Regions from separate parts of the Homo sapiens genome. Here regions 1 and 2 are each linked to region 3. The links are contacts of gene promoters, found by promoter capture Hi-C in blood cells and fetal thymus (Javierre and others, 2016). All regions are on one chromosome and are shown on one strand. The core of a region is centred on a gene start or on the middle of the fragment in contact, and the rest is flanking DNA. Distances in the headings are between cores, read along the strand shown.

Evidence for each region. The method cuts DNA at HindIII sites, captures the fragments that hold promoters and counts their contacts. A CHiCAGO score of 5 or more calls a contact.
Region 1: a contact is called between a fragment that was not itself captured here and the fragment with the promoter of ANKRD35 in region 3, in 15 of 17 cell types (naive B cells, non-activated CD4 T cells, naive CD4 T cells and 12 more). The highest score is 12.2, in naive B cells.
Region 2: a contact is called between a fragment that was not itself captured here and the fragment with the promoter of ANKRD35 in region 3, in 2 of 17 cell types (erythroblasts and endothelial precursors). The highest score is 5.7, in erythroblasts.

What each region holds. Positions count from the first base shown.
Region 1 is chr1:146,048,678-146,053,529 of GRCh38, forward strand. RNVU1-6 (RNA, variant U1 small nuclear 6) reads right to left here and starts at 3,567; the gene lies at 3,404-3,567. LINC01719 (long intergenic non-protein coding RNA 1719) reads left to right here and starts at 3,919. Exons shown (of 3, transcript NR_125968.1): 1 at 3,919-4,271. RefSeq lists enhancers at 2,777-3,505, 3,506-4,237 and a silencer at 3,417-3,656. The HindIII fragment of the contact is 874 bases long and covers 3,119-3,992 here.
Region 2 is chr1:145,736,323-145,741,445 of GRCh38, forward strand. It overlaps CD160 (CD160 molecule), which reads left to right. Exons shown (of 6, transcript NM_007053.4): 6 at 2,164-2,966. The coding sequence ends at 2,171. It overlaps RNF115 (ring finger protein 115), which reads right to left. Exons shown (of 9, transcript NM_014455.4): 9 at 2,546-5,123. Among named protein-coding and RNA genes, the nearest start is that of CD160, 19 kb to the left of the region's middle. The HindIII fragment of the contact is 2,101 bases long and covers 1,617-3,717 here.
Region 3 is chr1:145,883,118-145,887,549 of GRCh38, forward strand. ANKRD35 (ankyrin repeat domain 35) reads right to left here and starts at 2,749. Exons shown (of 14, transcript NM_144698.5): 1 at 2,603-2,749. The coding sequence starts at 2,641. It overlaps ANKRD35-DT (ANKRD35 divergent transcript), which reads left to right and starts at 3,063. Exons shown (of 3, transcript XR_001737758.2): 1 at 3,063-3,158; 2 at 4,099-4,212. RefSeq lists silencers at 2,623-2,812, 3,053-3,142. The HindIII fragment of the contact is 4,625 bases long and covers 726-4,432 here.

The DNA.
Region 1 (4,852 bases), core at 2,306-4,805, 170 kb after region 3:
ACTCCTAACCTTAGGTGATCTGCCCGCCTCATCCTCCCAAACTGCTGCAATTACAGGCATGAGCCACCACACCCAGGAAAGGGAAGCACTTTTTTTTTTCTGTTTTTATAGATGAAGAAATAGAGATACAGAAAATTCAGTAACGTTTTAAAAGTCACATCATGAACCAACCAAGATTTCAACCTGGAAATTGAGGCTTCACCACAAGTGAAGACTGGGATTTTCTTGTTTTCAATTATTGGGAGTTTTGGATTTCCAGGAATGTGCAGTTGTAAAAACCCAGCTTCAGGAAGTGATGAAATAAGTGCAGTGGCTCTGGAGTAAGCTCTGAAGCCCCAGGCTCAGGCTCTATTGAAAAATTACTTTTGCTGAAATATTCTTGTTTTTAGGAACTTCCATGGAACTTGAGCCTTCGCACAGCGTATTTTGGCATCGAATTTAAAGCTAGTAGAGGTCCGGAAGATTCCCAGGATTAAAGTCTTTAAACAGAAAGCGTGAATCTTGCCTAAGTAAAAGGTACCATCTCTGGGTGGGCTTGAACCACCAGCCTTTCGGTTCAAACAGCCGAAGGCACTAACCGATGGCGCCACAGAGACTCTAATGGTTTAGATTTGCTGATACCAGAAATGGCATTTTAACCTCTGGCCGTAGATAATCTCATATGTTTGTAGCCTGTCCAATCCCGCGCACTCCAGAAACCCAGAACACGGGAGACATTGAAGCCAAGAGTCGAGTCTTTGGGCACTTTGGACGTTCTACCCGGGCAGAGTCAGCTGGGGGACTCCAACGGCCAAACGGCCGCCTGCTCCTCACCGTCTGCTCTTCACTGGTTCCCCCGCCTGCTCTTCACCGTCTCAAAAGTCGCCGGCCCCTCTACAGGCGACAACTGCAGCTTCTCCGGCGGAAGTCACTCGCTTTCCCATTCTTAGCCCCGCTTCACACCTTGAGCTCACAGTCATTTCCGCCGGGCCTGGGCTAGCGGACGCGCGCGTGGGAAGGACCAGAACCCGTGGTGTCCTCACCGCGTCACCCTCGGGCCCTCAGAGGTGGGATCCACCGGACAGGGACCTGGAGTTTGCACAGGCTGCAGCCCTTCGCCCAGAGCCAGCCTAGCACCTAGTAGGTGCCCAATAAATGCTTGGTGAAGGAAGGCATTCCACCGCAGGGTTTTAGGAGAACCATGAATTCCCGTGTGAACGTTAAGCGTTTAGTCCTACTAGGAAGTCTGGAATATAGAGACCTGAACTGTTTCTCAAAGGCAGCTGTTCTTGTATCCCCAGAGCCGGTTTAGAATCCAGCAAAGGCCCCTGCCCGGTGGATCCCACCTCTGGAGACCCGAGGATAGTGCGGTGGGGGGCACCGCGGGTTCTTGTCCTTCCCACGCTCACGTCCACCGGCCCAGGCCCAAAGGAACTGGCTGTGGGTACAAGATGTGAAGATAGTTACAAATACCAGCTAGTGCCAGTGCCAGTTGCAGAAATCAGGACTTGTAATAGTTATGAGTATTTCTTCATTATTTTGAGATGAATACATTTGGGTGTATATTAACCAAAACTTTTCTTGAGAATTCTCCTCTTCCATCACCCTAGCTAGCACATTCATTAATAATTAACTTTTAGAAATCTCAATATTTAGGTTACAGGAAAGCAAATATGGAATGTGATCTATCTAGCTAAAAAAGGAGTGAACATCATTCAAAGACAAAGACTTTATCCTGTTGGGGAAAGGGTTGGCATATTTTCACTGAATGAGAAAAAGTATGATTTTCATATTGTCTTTATTTGAACCTTAAGTATGATTTTACAAGGAGGAAAAAGGAGGAGGAAGAAGCAAAAGAAGAGGAAGAGGAGGAAAAAAAGAAGAGGAGGAAGATGTACATTGATGCCACTTTGAGAAGAAGTGGACTGTGGTGGATTTGTAATGTATCAGTTTTGCCAAGCTGAATGCACATTTCCCAGATTTGCCATCTTTAGATAGCTCTAGGTTAGCCTGGGCAACAGGAGACACTTGGAAGATAGAATTCGAGTGGCTGTTACACTCTTTTGTATACTGGGAAGGGCGTTGTTACAGCTCAGGCATGATCTTCAGCTTCCCTGACCCTTGGACTGGTGGGTGTTTTGCTTCTTGATCTAACATTAAGGTTAGAAGTTGCAGGATTCCAGCAGGGTTTTGTCACATCCAATCTGGTTTAAGTTCTCATATTATTAGGAAAGCTTTAGGGTGCTTCAGGAAAACGCTTTTTAAAAAATCAAATTTGGAAAATATCAAATGGAATTATAGGCAATAAGCATAACCCAGTGGAACCATGAATCAAACCCTCTAGAGCAGGGTTGTCTAAATTTTGGCTTCCTTGGGCCACACTGGAAAAAAAAAAAAGACACTTGTCTTGGGCCAAACATAATATACACTAATCGCAATTGAACTGTACCTGTAAAGCTTGTAAACAAAATGTGTCTGTAAAGTCTGTAAACAGGCCAGGTGCGGTGGCTCAGGCCTGTAATCCCAACATTTTGGGAGGCCGCGAGGCAGGCGGAAAACTTGAGGTCAGGAGTTCAAGACCAGGGTGGCCAACATGGTGAAACCCTGTCACTCTTTTTTTTTTTTTTTTTTTTTGAGACGGAGTCTCACTCTGTCGCCCAGGCTGGAGTGCAGTGGTGCGATCTCAGCTCACTGCAACCTCTGCCTCCCGGGTTCAAGCGATTCTCTTGCCTCAGCCTCCTGAGTAGCTGGGACTACAGGCACGTGCCACCACACCCGGCTAATTTTTTTTTTTTGTATTTTTATTAGAGATGGGGTTTCACTGTGTTAGCCAGGATGGTCTTGACCTCCTGACCTCATGATCCACCCGCTTCCGCCTCCCAAAGTGCTGGGATTACAGGCGCGAGCCAGTGCGCCCGGCCCGGTGAAACCATGTCTCTACTAAAAATTCAAAAAATTAGCCGGACCTAATTTTTTGGTTGCCTGAGCCTGTAATGCCAGTTACTCGGGAGGCTGAGTATTCTCTGGTTGAGGAAGGAGAATAGCTTGAACGCAGGAGGCAAAGGTTGCAGTAAGGCGAGATCGCGCCATACACTCCAGCGGACTGTTTGCTGTTAATCCCATAGGGAAAAGAAAAGCTTAGTTTTATTTCTATAGAACAACAACAAAAAAAGATAAGAGATTAGTAGAGACGGGTTCACTATATTTGCCCACACACGCCTGAGGTCGAGCGATATTAACATAAACATAACCTATCGACGTACCTCATAGATTGCTGGGATTACAAACGTGAGAACCACGATGTCCCAAATTTTTAGTTTCAGTGAAGTTACAGATGGGAACAAAGACCTGATTCTCAGCTTACGCTGACGCCCAGTATGCGTTTCTGCAGCAAACAAAACCTATTTTTAAAACGACAAAAATACAGGGGAAAGCGCGAATGCAGTCTACCACTGCCACAAATTATACAGTCAAGTTTCCCACATTTGGGGAAACTGCAGGGGTCAGCAGATCCGGAGTGCAATGGATAAGACTCGCTCTGGAAAAACCACCTTCGTGACCAGGGTATCTCTCCTGCCAGGTAAGTATGAGTTATTGCACCTCCGCCCCGCCGGCAGCCTCACACGCTTCACCCTTTACACGCACGGTCACTTGCCCCGCGCACACCCCCCTCCCCCCCAGCCCTCCTAGCCCTGACACACAGCTGGGACTCTCAGGTCCGACCAGCGGTCCTGAACCCGCTCCCACGGCACGGGAACTCCTTCGTGGCGAAGCAGCATGTGGCGAAGCAGCAGCCCCTGCGCTGGCTCATCTACATAGAAGTCGCCCTATCCGTGATGTCACCGACAGCGCCTTTCCCAGTCCCCGTCTGCCTTTCTGCCGCTCAGCCGACCAACCCGCTGCCGGAGCCGGCAAGGGGAAGTGACGTCTGCCTCTCCCTTTTTTCTCTCCTGCTTCCCTCATCTGTTCTCTTCCAAAGAAGCTGGTCCTTAGCCTGTATTGCGGAGCAAGCTTTCGGCGACCAGCTGGACCCTGGGCACCCTTCTTCGAACAATGGCTTTTAATTCTCAGACTAGAACGTTTAGGATTACAAAAGAAACTGGTTCTTTTCACATTCTTATTCTTGTGATGTAGCATTCCGCATATATATATATATATATATATATATATATATATATATGTATCCAACTATCCTAAAAGACACTACCCTTCATCATTCCATGCCATTAGACATGTATAGGACCATGCATGGTGATCTCCTCCAGACAAAAGTAAATGCTGGTGCAGAACAGGTAAGTGTACTATAATTTGAGTACATCAGCTTTTGGGCATTTTAAACCATGGGTCAGACAAGTTAGAGCAAGAGGGCAGGTTGATAGCAAGAGGGAGTGTTTTTCTTTTAATTTTCTTTTTTTTTGTTTTGAGACGGAGTCTCGCGCTCTTCGCTCAGGCTGGAGTGCAGTGGGGCTATCTCGGCTCACTGCAAGCTCCGCCTCCCGGGTTCACGCCATTCTCCTGCCTCAGCCTCCCCAGTAGCTGGGATTACAGGCACCTGCCACCACGTCCGGCTAATTTTTTGTATTTTTAGTAGAGATGGGGTTTCACTCTGTTAGCCAGGATGGTCTCGATCTCCTGACCTTGTGATCCGCCCACCTCGGCCTCCCAAAGTGCTGGGATTACAGGCGTGAGCCACCGCGCCCGGCTTCTTTTAATTTTCAAATAGCAAAGTGATGTTTGCCACTGTCATTTCAGAATGAGGTGACAATTTGTTGTTGTTTGGTTTTGTGGGGTTTTTTGTTTGTTTGTTTGTTTCTGAGACAAGGTCTCACTGTCGCCCAGGTTGGAGTACAGTGGCATGATCAGGGTTTACTTC
Region 2 (5,123 bases), core at 1,417-3,916, 150 kb before region 3:
GACAGATAAATCAGACTTTTCAATGGGTAGGAGGTAAGACTCATTAGGAATGAAGGCCTGTGAGAGAGGCAAGTTAGTACAACTACCTCTACTCACTGCATGAACAGAGGGCTACAAGTTGAAGCAACAGATTTTCAGCTATTAGAGGAAGAAAAGGCAAGAGACAGACTTGGTTTGGAGATGGGTTTTGAACAATGCGGCTCCTCAGCAAAGGCTGATGGCCAGATTGAGTATATTAAACACATGTAGCTGAGTCCTCTGAAAACCATTTACCAATATAGATTAGCGTTTTCCCTATTAGATAACAAAAAGTGAAACTTCCAATAATTTGTCATAACGTTTTTGCATAACAAGCAACTGATTCAGGTTTTTGCCTGGCCTTGGCATTCTTAACTCCATTTTATTTAGGCATTCCTCAAATCAATAACTACCACTGTTTTGAATGGCATCAGAATGTAAGCTCTATATATATGTAAGGACTTTGTCTTCTTTACCCCAACGAAAAGTCCCACACATATGGCAGGCTCTTAATAAATTTGTTAAAAAACCTGTATGATGAATCAGATGCTTTACACATGATGATTCTAACCTTATACAACCCTTGCAAGCAAACATCCCCTGGTTACTCATCAGGAAACAGACACAAGGAAGTTAAATAGGGCCTGGTGCGGTGGCTCACGCCTGTAATCCCAGCACTTTGGGAGGCCAAGGCAGGCAGATCCTTTGAGCCTAGGAGTTTGAGGCCAGTCTGGGCAACATGGCAAAACCCCAACTATACAAAAAAATACAAAAATTAGGCATGGTGGCACACAACTGTAGTCCCAAGCTAAGGCATGAGGATCACCTGAGCCCAGGCTGGTTGAGGTTGCAGTGAGCCATGATCATGCCACTGTACTCCAGCCTGGGTGACAGGGTGAGACACTTTCTCAAAGGAAAAAAAAAAAAAAAAAGAGTTAATTGTTGCCCGTCACAGCAATTAATACAGATCCTTCTCACTCTAAAACCTTACACTCAGTAATGATCTACTATATGCAAAGCACCTCTTACATCCTTCACCACCCCATTCATTCTGAGATTGACTCCTCCCCTTTCCAGAAACAGGACCACCTAAACATTCCCTATTCCAGTCCCTTATTTGCAAGTCATCAAAAGAAAACAGAGATTTCAAAAAGAAAACAGAGACCTTATCTGTAATCCTTGGTAAGGATCTTCCAAATTTAAGCCTATGCCAGTTTTCAGGAGGAAACATGAATATGAAACAGTCTGACCTTTAGACATAATTTTTTGTTGACTTTAAATTCCCTTGGTTAGGCCACTGTAACCAGTAAAATAAATTTTATTTTAGAATAAAAATTATAAAGGGGAAATTGAGTCTAGCCATACAACCTACTACTAGTTACTATCTTTGATTCCCAAGTCATCCTAGAGCAAAAAAAAAAAAAAAAAAATCATCTCTGGCCTTTTTTTCCTTTTCCACTCAGGTGAAGAGAATGAGCTTTTGAATCCAATTTTTTGTTTTCTCCTATATTCAATTCAAGTAGCTTTAAAGTTAACCAAAGGAAAAAACCAAAGCTCAATATTTGATTAAACGAGAAAATATACACTACTTAGAAGCTTTCTTTTCTTTATCCTTCTTCCCCAACTCAAGGCTTAGTAGAATTATTGAAAGAGGTAGTATTCAGTAGAATAGTACACATGCTTTTTCAGGTCCAGAAACACCACATAGGTCAAGTTATCATGCTTACATGTGGGGAAAAGGAGGAGGGAGTTTCCTGGACCTCTGTGCCTCTCTCAGCTCATGAACTAGTTTCAGTGAATATCCTTGTCTTACCACTGTGCCAACAATTCAGAGCTATACGTGGAAAACCTACCTTCAACTTTTTGAGTGGCATCTATTGCTTCTTTGATTGTTCCTTCCAGCAAGGAGCGATCAAAGGCTAGCCCCCTTCCCACTCCCACCAGAATCAGATTTGCTCAAGATTACAACCCTAATTTAGTAATAAGATGCAATACATAAAATAGTTCCCACTTTCCTTTTCCAATCCCTTTACAGTCATGAGGGCCTATCACGCACGCATCTCAGGACAGGTGAGACTTCATTATATCAGGTATTTTGTTGCTATTCTAAGTTATAAGGCAGTAATACAAACTTTCTTTCCACAGCTTTGTAAGCCTTGTGCCAAAAGAAACTTTTAAAACAGCTACAGCAAGATGAGTCTGACTATGGCTTAGTATCTTTCTCATTACAATAGGCACAGAGAAGAATGCAACAGGGCACAGGGGAAGAGATGCTAAATATACCAAGAATCTGTGGAAATATAAGCTGGGGCAAATCAGTGTAATCCTTGACTTTGCTCCTCACCATCAGGGCAAACTTGCCTTCTTCCCTCCTAAGCTCCAGTAAATAAACAGAACAGCTTTCACCAAAGTGGGTAGTATAGTCCTCAAATATCGGATAAATATATGCGTTTTTGTACCCCAGAAAAACTTTTCCTCCCTCTTCATCAACATAGTAAAATAAGTCAAACAAAATGAGAACACCAAATTTTGGGGGAATAAATTTTTATTTAACACTGCAAAGGAAAGAGAGAGAAAACAAGCAAAGATAGGTAGGACAGAAAGGAAGACAGCCAGATCCAGTGATTGACTTGGCATGAAAATGAGAAAATGCAGACAGACCTCAACATTCAACAACATCCATACAGCACTGCTGGAGGAAGAGGAAGATTTGTGCAGACCAAGAGCACCACAGACTACAACTGCCCAGCTTCATCTAAATACTTGTTAACCTCTTTGGTCATTTCTCTTTTTAAATAAATGCCCATAGCAGTATTTGGAGTCTTTTCTTTTCTCCTAAATCCACAAACTCTCTTCTTTCTCTTTGGACAGATGACCTCTTGTCATAGTTAAGCAGAGAGTGGGCAGGATATTCCTGATAGGAGGAACTACATGAATAAAGGGGTAAGAGCACAGAAATTTAGCTACAGCTCCATGGTGAGCCATTAAAAGGAAAGAGACACTTTACCTGTGCTCCTTGGCAAGGACCTGCCAAATGTGGGAGCTAAGGTTTGTGGGAACGGAAAGAGATATGGCTGAAGTAGATGAGTAAGACTCTTATTAGTGATAGTCTTGAACCTCAAACTAAGGATTTTAGACTGTATCCCATGGAGATAAAAGGACTAGCCATGGAGGCAAAAAGACCTGGATTCAAATTCTGGCTCTGCAACATACCAGCTATTTGTCATTGGGCAAATGAATTTTTTTTTTTTTTTTTTGAGACGGAGTCTCACTCTGTTGCCCAGGCTGGAGTGCAGTGGCATGATCTCAGCTCACTGCAACCTCCACCTCCCGGGTTCAAGCAATTCTCCTGCCTCAGTCTCCCAAGTAGCTGGGATTACAGGCATGCACCACCATGCCTGGCTAATTTTTGTGTTTTTGGTAGAGACGGGGTTTCACCATGTTGGCCAGGCTGGTCTCAAACTCCTGACCTCAAGTGATCCACCCGCCTCAGCCTCCCAAAGTGCTGGGATTACAGGCGTGAGCCACCTCACCCAGTGCAAATGAGGTTTTGAGATGCTATTTCTGTTTACCTATCTGTAAAAAGGGATATTGCCTATTGTATCTTCTCTTTCCACAGAATTGTTCTGAGAATCAAAATGAGAGTCTGGATTTGGGACCTAGAGCCATTTGAGTTCTGACTCCAAAGTCTCCAAAGCTTTCTCCACTACATCACATTCATCTTAATCTTTCTCTACCTGTTTTAAATAGTTAGTTCTGTGTTTCTAACTAAATAATAAACTCACATAGGTAGAGATGTCTTTTGTTTTTACTATTCAAATAATCTTCTGGAGCTACTCAACATTATACAATCACTGGAAGTCTCAGAAGATATATCCAACTATAGGAAAAGTTTCAGCCATTGTACTATACTAATTATAGTCCACATATAAAAATCTGTGACACATAATCACAGAAAGGAAACATCACTGCCCAAGTTTATGAAGACATTTAAGAGCATCAGATTACTAGCTCTGACTCAAACTAAGCGGAATATATACAAAGCAATCCCACTTTGTACATACCAACTGAGTCTTGCTTCTAAAGAGTTTATTTACTCTGCTTATCTCGAGACTTGGTTAAACAGAAACTTAAAATACTTGTGTCTTGGCTTTCAAAATGTGTTGATACAATTGCCTTCAAATAAGCCTACAAATTTTCATGCATAATAGGTGGTTTTCTGGACACGCATCTTAGCCCCAATCTGTATGAGTGATTCACAAACACGGGTTTTGAACCTGTGAGGCCATGAGGTTATCAGAAGGAATCTATATACCATAATCTTCAGCCTGAATAAATATCTTTCAAATATTTGTATATATTTCAATTGGATGTAGATTCTGGTGTGACTAATAAATTAACTTAAAAGCATTACTGAAATCATAGCAGCTTTTTGTTATGTATTCTTTAATCAAAAATACTAATAATATGGCTATCAAGTTGTTGGAAGGGAATCTAATAATTTGGGGGTTTTTGTTTTGAGACAGGGTCTCTCTCTGTTGCCCTGGAGTGCAGTGGCACAATCTTGGCTCACTACAACCTCTGCCTCCTTGGTTCAAACGATTCTCCCTCCTCAGCCTCCCAAGTAGCTGGGACTACAGGTGCATGCCACCACACCTGGCTAATTTTTGTATTTTTAGTAGACATGGTGTTTTATTGTGCTGCCCAGGCTGGTCTCAAACTCCTGACCTCAAGTGATCTGCCTGCCTCAGCCTTCCAAAATGCTGAGATTACAGGCATGAGCCACAATGCCCAGCCAAGAATCTAATAATTTTTGGATCTTGAAAATTGTATTTCTTATTAGAAAAAGTAAAGAATCACAGGCTTACATCCTATGATCACAGATCTAAGTGTTCTGGTTGAAAGAGGAAGAAGAGGCAACATACAAACTACACTTCTGTGGACACCAAGTGTAGTGTGGCAGGAAAACATAAAGTTTGCATGTATAAAACCTTAAAAGTTGAATGCCTACAATGTACTTGTCTGTGGCAGGTATGAGAGATCGAAACCTTACAATGTCAATGGGATCAGACAAGGGCTCTATTTTGATCCTGGAAAGCATCACC
Region 3 (4,432 bases), core at 1,499-3,998:
CTTGTTGCCCAGGCTGGAGTGCGATGGCACCATCTCGGCTCACTGCAACCTCCGCCTCCCGGGTTCAAGCGATTCTCCTGCCTCAGCCTCCCAAGTAGCTGGGATTACAGGTGCCTGCCACCACACCCGGCTAATTTTTGTATTTTTAGTAGAGATAGGGTATCGCCATGTTGGCCAGGCTGGTCCCAAACTCCTGACCTCAGGTGATCCACCCGCTTCAGCCTCCCAAAGTGCTGGGATTACAGGCGTGAGCCACTGCGCCCAGATGATCCAGTGCCAATTATTTAAAGCTCTCTTCTGGTCTACTTCTGGTCTACCTAGGCAGAGTAAGCTCATAGGTAAGATACCCTCAAGGATATCCTCTACTTGACTAAAATAAAATGGGATTATAGGAGTTGGGGTTTTTTTGTGTGTGGATTTTCCTATATACTGGTAACTTAGATTAGCTTTAAAATGATCACTGCTTTTTCAGTCCTTACTCAGACTGACAGTGCAGGGCTCTGGCCCTGGACCCAAATGTGTGAGTGGAGATGGGTAGAGGCAGTCTTCCAGTGTGACTGGGAAGCCAGGCTTTTGGAGTGGCCATAAAGACTGCCACACTACTTCTCTGACAAATGGTTCCAGAGTAGTTTGCCACCCAAAACAGTGGAGGAATTTATCATGAGAAGTGTGGGGAAATTTCATGAGGAACCAATCTGCAGCTGAAACTGCCCTATTTGCAAGCTTTCTATGACTCCAATCTGTCTGAAGAAACAGTTTTCTTTCCAGCTAGATAATTCTAAACCCATCCAACTTACTTCCCATAATCTCATTATAGTAAGATCTTGTTATACTAAAAGTTTAGAATGGGTGGTCATTCTTTATGGTCAAACCTCTGTACAGCTAGAATCAAGGAGGACAGAGGGATGGTTCCAAATTCCAAAAGCCAGCCCACTCATTCCAGCACCTTGGAAAGGAGGTACTGCCCAAGGATTGGGGGATCAGAAAGAATGAAATAGTTTCCCCATTCCTAAGAAGCAGGCAGACTCCACAAACCTGTAAGGGAAAGGCAACATTGAATACTTTCAGTAACTAAGGAAGAGTCCATATGAATTTCTAAAAAGTCATTATGAGTTAAGACTGAGTCTGGGCAGCCTCAGTTTCTGGTGCATATAATAGTAAATACCTTTTGATTGGTTGATCAATGTGTGGAAACTAAGTAGAGATGCAAATGTAAGTGGGACAAGGACAGGCCTCAACAGAGTTCATACTCTTGCCTCATAGCTTGCTTCCAGGATTCTGTAACCTGCCCATGCAGAATGAGCTAATTGAACATTTCTGATATTTTCTTATGAACGATACTACTAAGTCAAGTTAGCAAAGCAATATTGCTACAAGTAGCTGGCTAATTTGCTTCTAAATTAGCCGTAACCCCAACCTCTACAGAAAATTCCATTTCCAAATAAGGGGGCTCTCTGTAAGAGATCTCTAGAGAAGAAGAAGCAATACCCTCCCTAAGCCACCACCTTCTATAATCTTATGTTTTTTTTTTTCTGGGAGAACATGGGGAATAGAGTGACTTCTGCTGGGAACTCTGAGTCTGCTCTATCCTCTTCTCTCATCATCACTTTCCCCCACCTCAACCAAGGAAACAGAGAGTATCATTCCTAAGCAACTGGGCAAGGGTTCAGGAAATGAATAATCTGGGGAAAAGCAGGCAGAAAGGCCTTGAGCCTTGACTGGCCCAAGAACCAGTCTGATGATCAGACACTGCAGTGAACTGGCTGGGGTGGACTCTGCAGGCAACTCACCCAGTCCTCTGGGGAGCAGTCAGGCAACTGTGCATCCTCTGGCAGTGCCTGTGAGGCTGACCAGACTGCAATATTAACTCACAGCAAGCAGGCAGGAGGAAAAGTGGGACTGGCGACCACTGGGCAGAGTAGGGCAGAGGTTGGAGGGGAGAACAGAAGGTTGCTGTTGTGGGAGCATCAATTGGAAAAAGGTTTGGAGTGATGTTTGAGGAACAGCAGTGCTGGTGAGAGATGGGAGTGAAAGTGGCATGGGGCAGGAGGGAAGCAATGACAGAGGAGATTGTGAAAAAGGGTTAGCAGAAGGCACAGGGCTGGGAGTGCTTGTTGAACTAACAGGAAACAGCAAGGATAGAGCTACGTGGAAGGCAAGATTGCGGGGACAGGGCAGGGATGAAATATGGGGCTCTGGGGCATGACTTGGTGGTGTAGAATGGAGCTTGAGGCCAGGCAGGGGCTGAGGAAGATGCTTGGGGGAGGTTTGGTACTGGGAGACGGAGCAGAAGTAGGGTCAGGGCCATGGGAAGGGGACAGAGTTGCAGAAAACGAACCAGAAATCGGGGGTGTAGATGCTAGGAGGACAAGAAAGGGGCCGGGGAAAGGGCCTTGGGGATGGCAGAGGTGAGCAGGGCAAGTCAGAAGCTGCAGGGCAGGGTCTTGAGGAAGGCAAAGCTGGCGGGCTTCCTTGCAAGACTAGAAGAGCTAGAAAGACTGATAAAAAGAAAAGGCGATGATGCATTGAGACGGGACTAAAGACTTCTGTCACCACAGAGCTGGGATCCCAACCCCATCCTCCCACACATTTTGGCACCTACCGCCACCTGTGTGCTGGAGCAGGAGAAGATACGCTTCATGGCCGGGGTCGGGGCCACGGGGGATGGGGACGCGCAGAGAGCCGGGCCACAGGTTCCCGAACCCACCGGACTTGGCTGCGGCTGTGCAAGAGACAGCTGTCAAAAAGCAGAGCGGGCCCCGCCCCACGATCCGCCTCAGAACCCGCCCTGCTCAATCAGAGGCAAGAACCCAAGGGCTGGGCTCAAAACTCCGCCCCTGGCCCTGCCCTACCCCATCCCTGCAGAGGAGAAAAGCCCGCAGTCTTAGGCTGCGACGGGGGCTTGGCCTCGAACCTCGCCCTTCAAATCTGAACCCACCCTGGGATCCGACCTGCTCAATCAGGAAAGGAACCGGGTGGGCTCCAGCTGAGACTCCTCCCGGACCCGGACCCGCCCCACCCTCAGTTCCAGGCGGGGCCTCCGCCCCAAGCCCCGCCTCAGCCCCGCCCCTCGGAGAGCGGCAGCCAGAGGCAGGAGGGTCCCGGCTTCTACCAGGGGCTTCGGTCTCACGGACTGTCGCATTTGCATTTAATCACTGGTAAAGTTACCTCTGCCCCCGCCAACTCCCCCCGCCTCTCCCCCGCCACTATTCCCCGGCCAAAAACCCAAGCAAAAAAGAGCATTTGAAGAGAGCAGTTCGGAAATAGGAGATTGTAGTGTTAAGCAGAGCAGAGATAATGCGCGGCCCACGGTAACCTGGGGGACAAAACCTAAGGAAAGGTGATCAGGTTCAATTTTATTTTTTCTTTCTGTTTTCTGAGACAGTGTCTCTAATCTGTCCCTCTGTCGGCCAGGCTGGAGTGCATGGCGCTATCATAGCTCACCGTAACCTCCAACTTGTGGGCTTAAGGGATTCTCTCACTCCAGCCTCCCGAGTAGCTGAGACTACAGGCATGCACCACCACGCCTGGCTAATTTTTTTTTTTTTTTTTTAAGAGATGGAGTGTCTCTATGTTACCCAGTCTGGTCTTCAACTCCAGGCCTCAAGCGATTCTCCTCACCGTAGCCTCCCAAAGCGCTGGGATTATAGGCATGAGCCACCACTATTCCTGGCCCAGGCTCAATTTTTAAACGCACATCTGAATTAGAAAACAGCAGAGAGCGAGGAGAGCAATTTTATTTTAAGCTGCCCCCCCCGCCCCCGCCCCCGCATAGAAACAAAAAATAACCAAACAAAAAACTGTCTTCATTATTTCCACTGCCCTTGAAGTTCAGGCTCTTGGTAATTCTTGAACAGTCAGTCGCAGCCAACTGGTCTTCCTGTCTTTCTTTTCTCCTCTCCCCGCCGGAGAGAGCTCACTAAAATGCATATGAAAACCTACAGGGTAAAGCCCAAAGTTCTTAAGTGGTTTACAAGGCTCTTCAGGAGTCATATGCTGCCGCCCTCTTTCCCAGTCCCATCTCTCATTACTTTCACACAAAAGAGCCACTCAAACTGTTTCTTTTTTTATTATTATTATTTTTATTTTTTGAGACAGAGTCTCACCCAGACTGAAGTGCAGTGGCACAATCTCGGCTCACTCACCGCAGCCTCTGCCTTCCCGGTCCAAGCAATTCTCCTGCCTCAGCCTCCCAAGTGGCTGGGATTACAGGTATGTGCCATCACGCCCGCTAAGTTTTGTATTTTTAGTAGAGACAGGGTTTTGCCATGTTGGCCGGACTGGTCTCAAATTCCTGACCTCAAGTGATCCACCTGCCTTGGCCTCCCAAAGTGCTGGGATTACAGGCGTGAGCCACTATGCCTGGCCTTGTTTTTTTTGTTTTGAGACAGGGTCTCGCTGTCACCCAGGCTGGAGTGTGATAGCATGATCG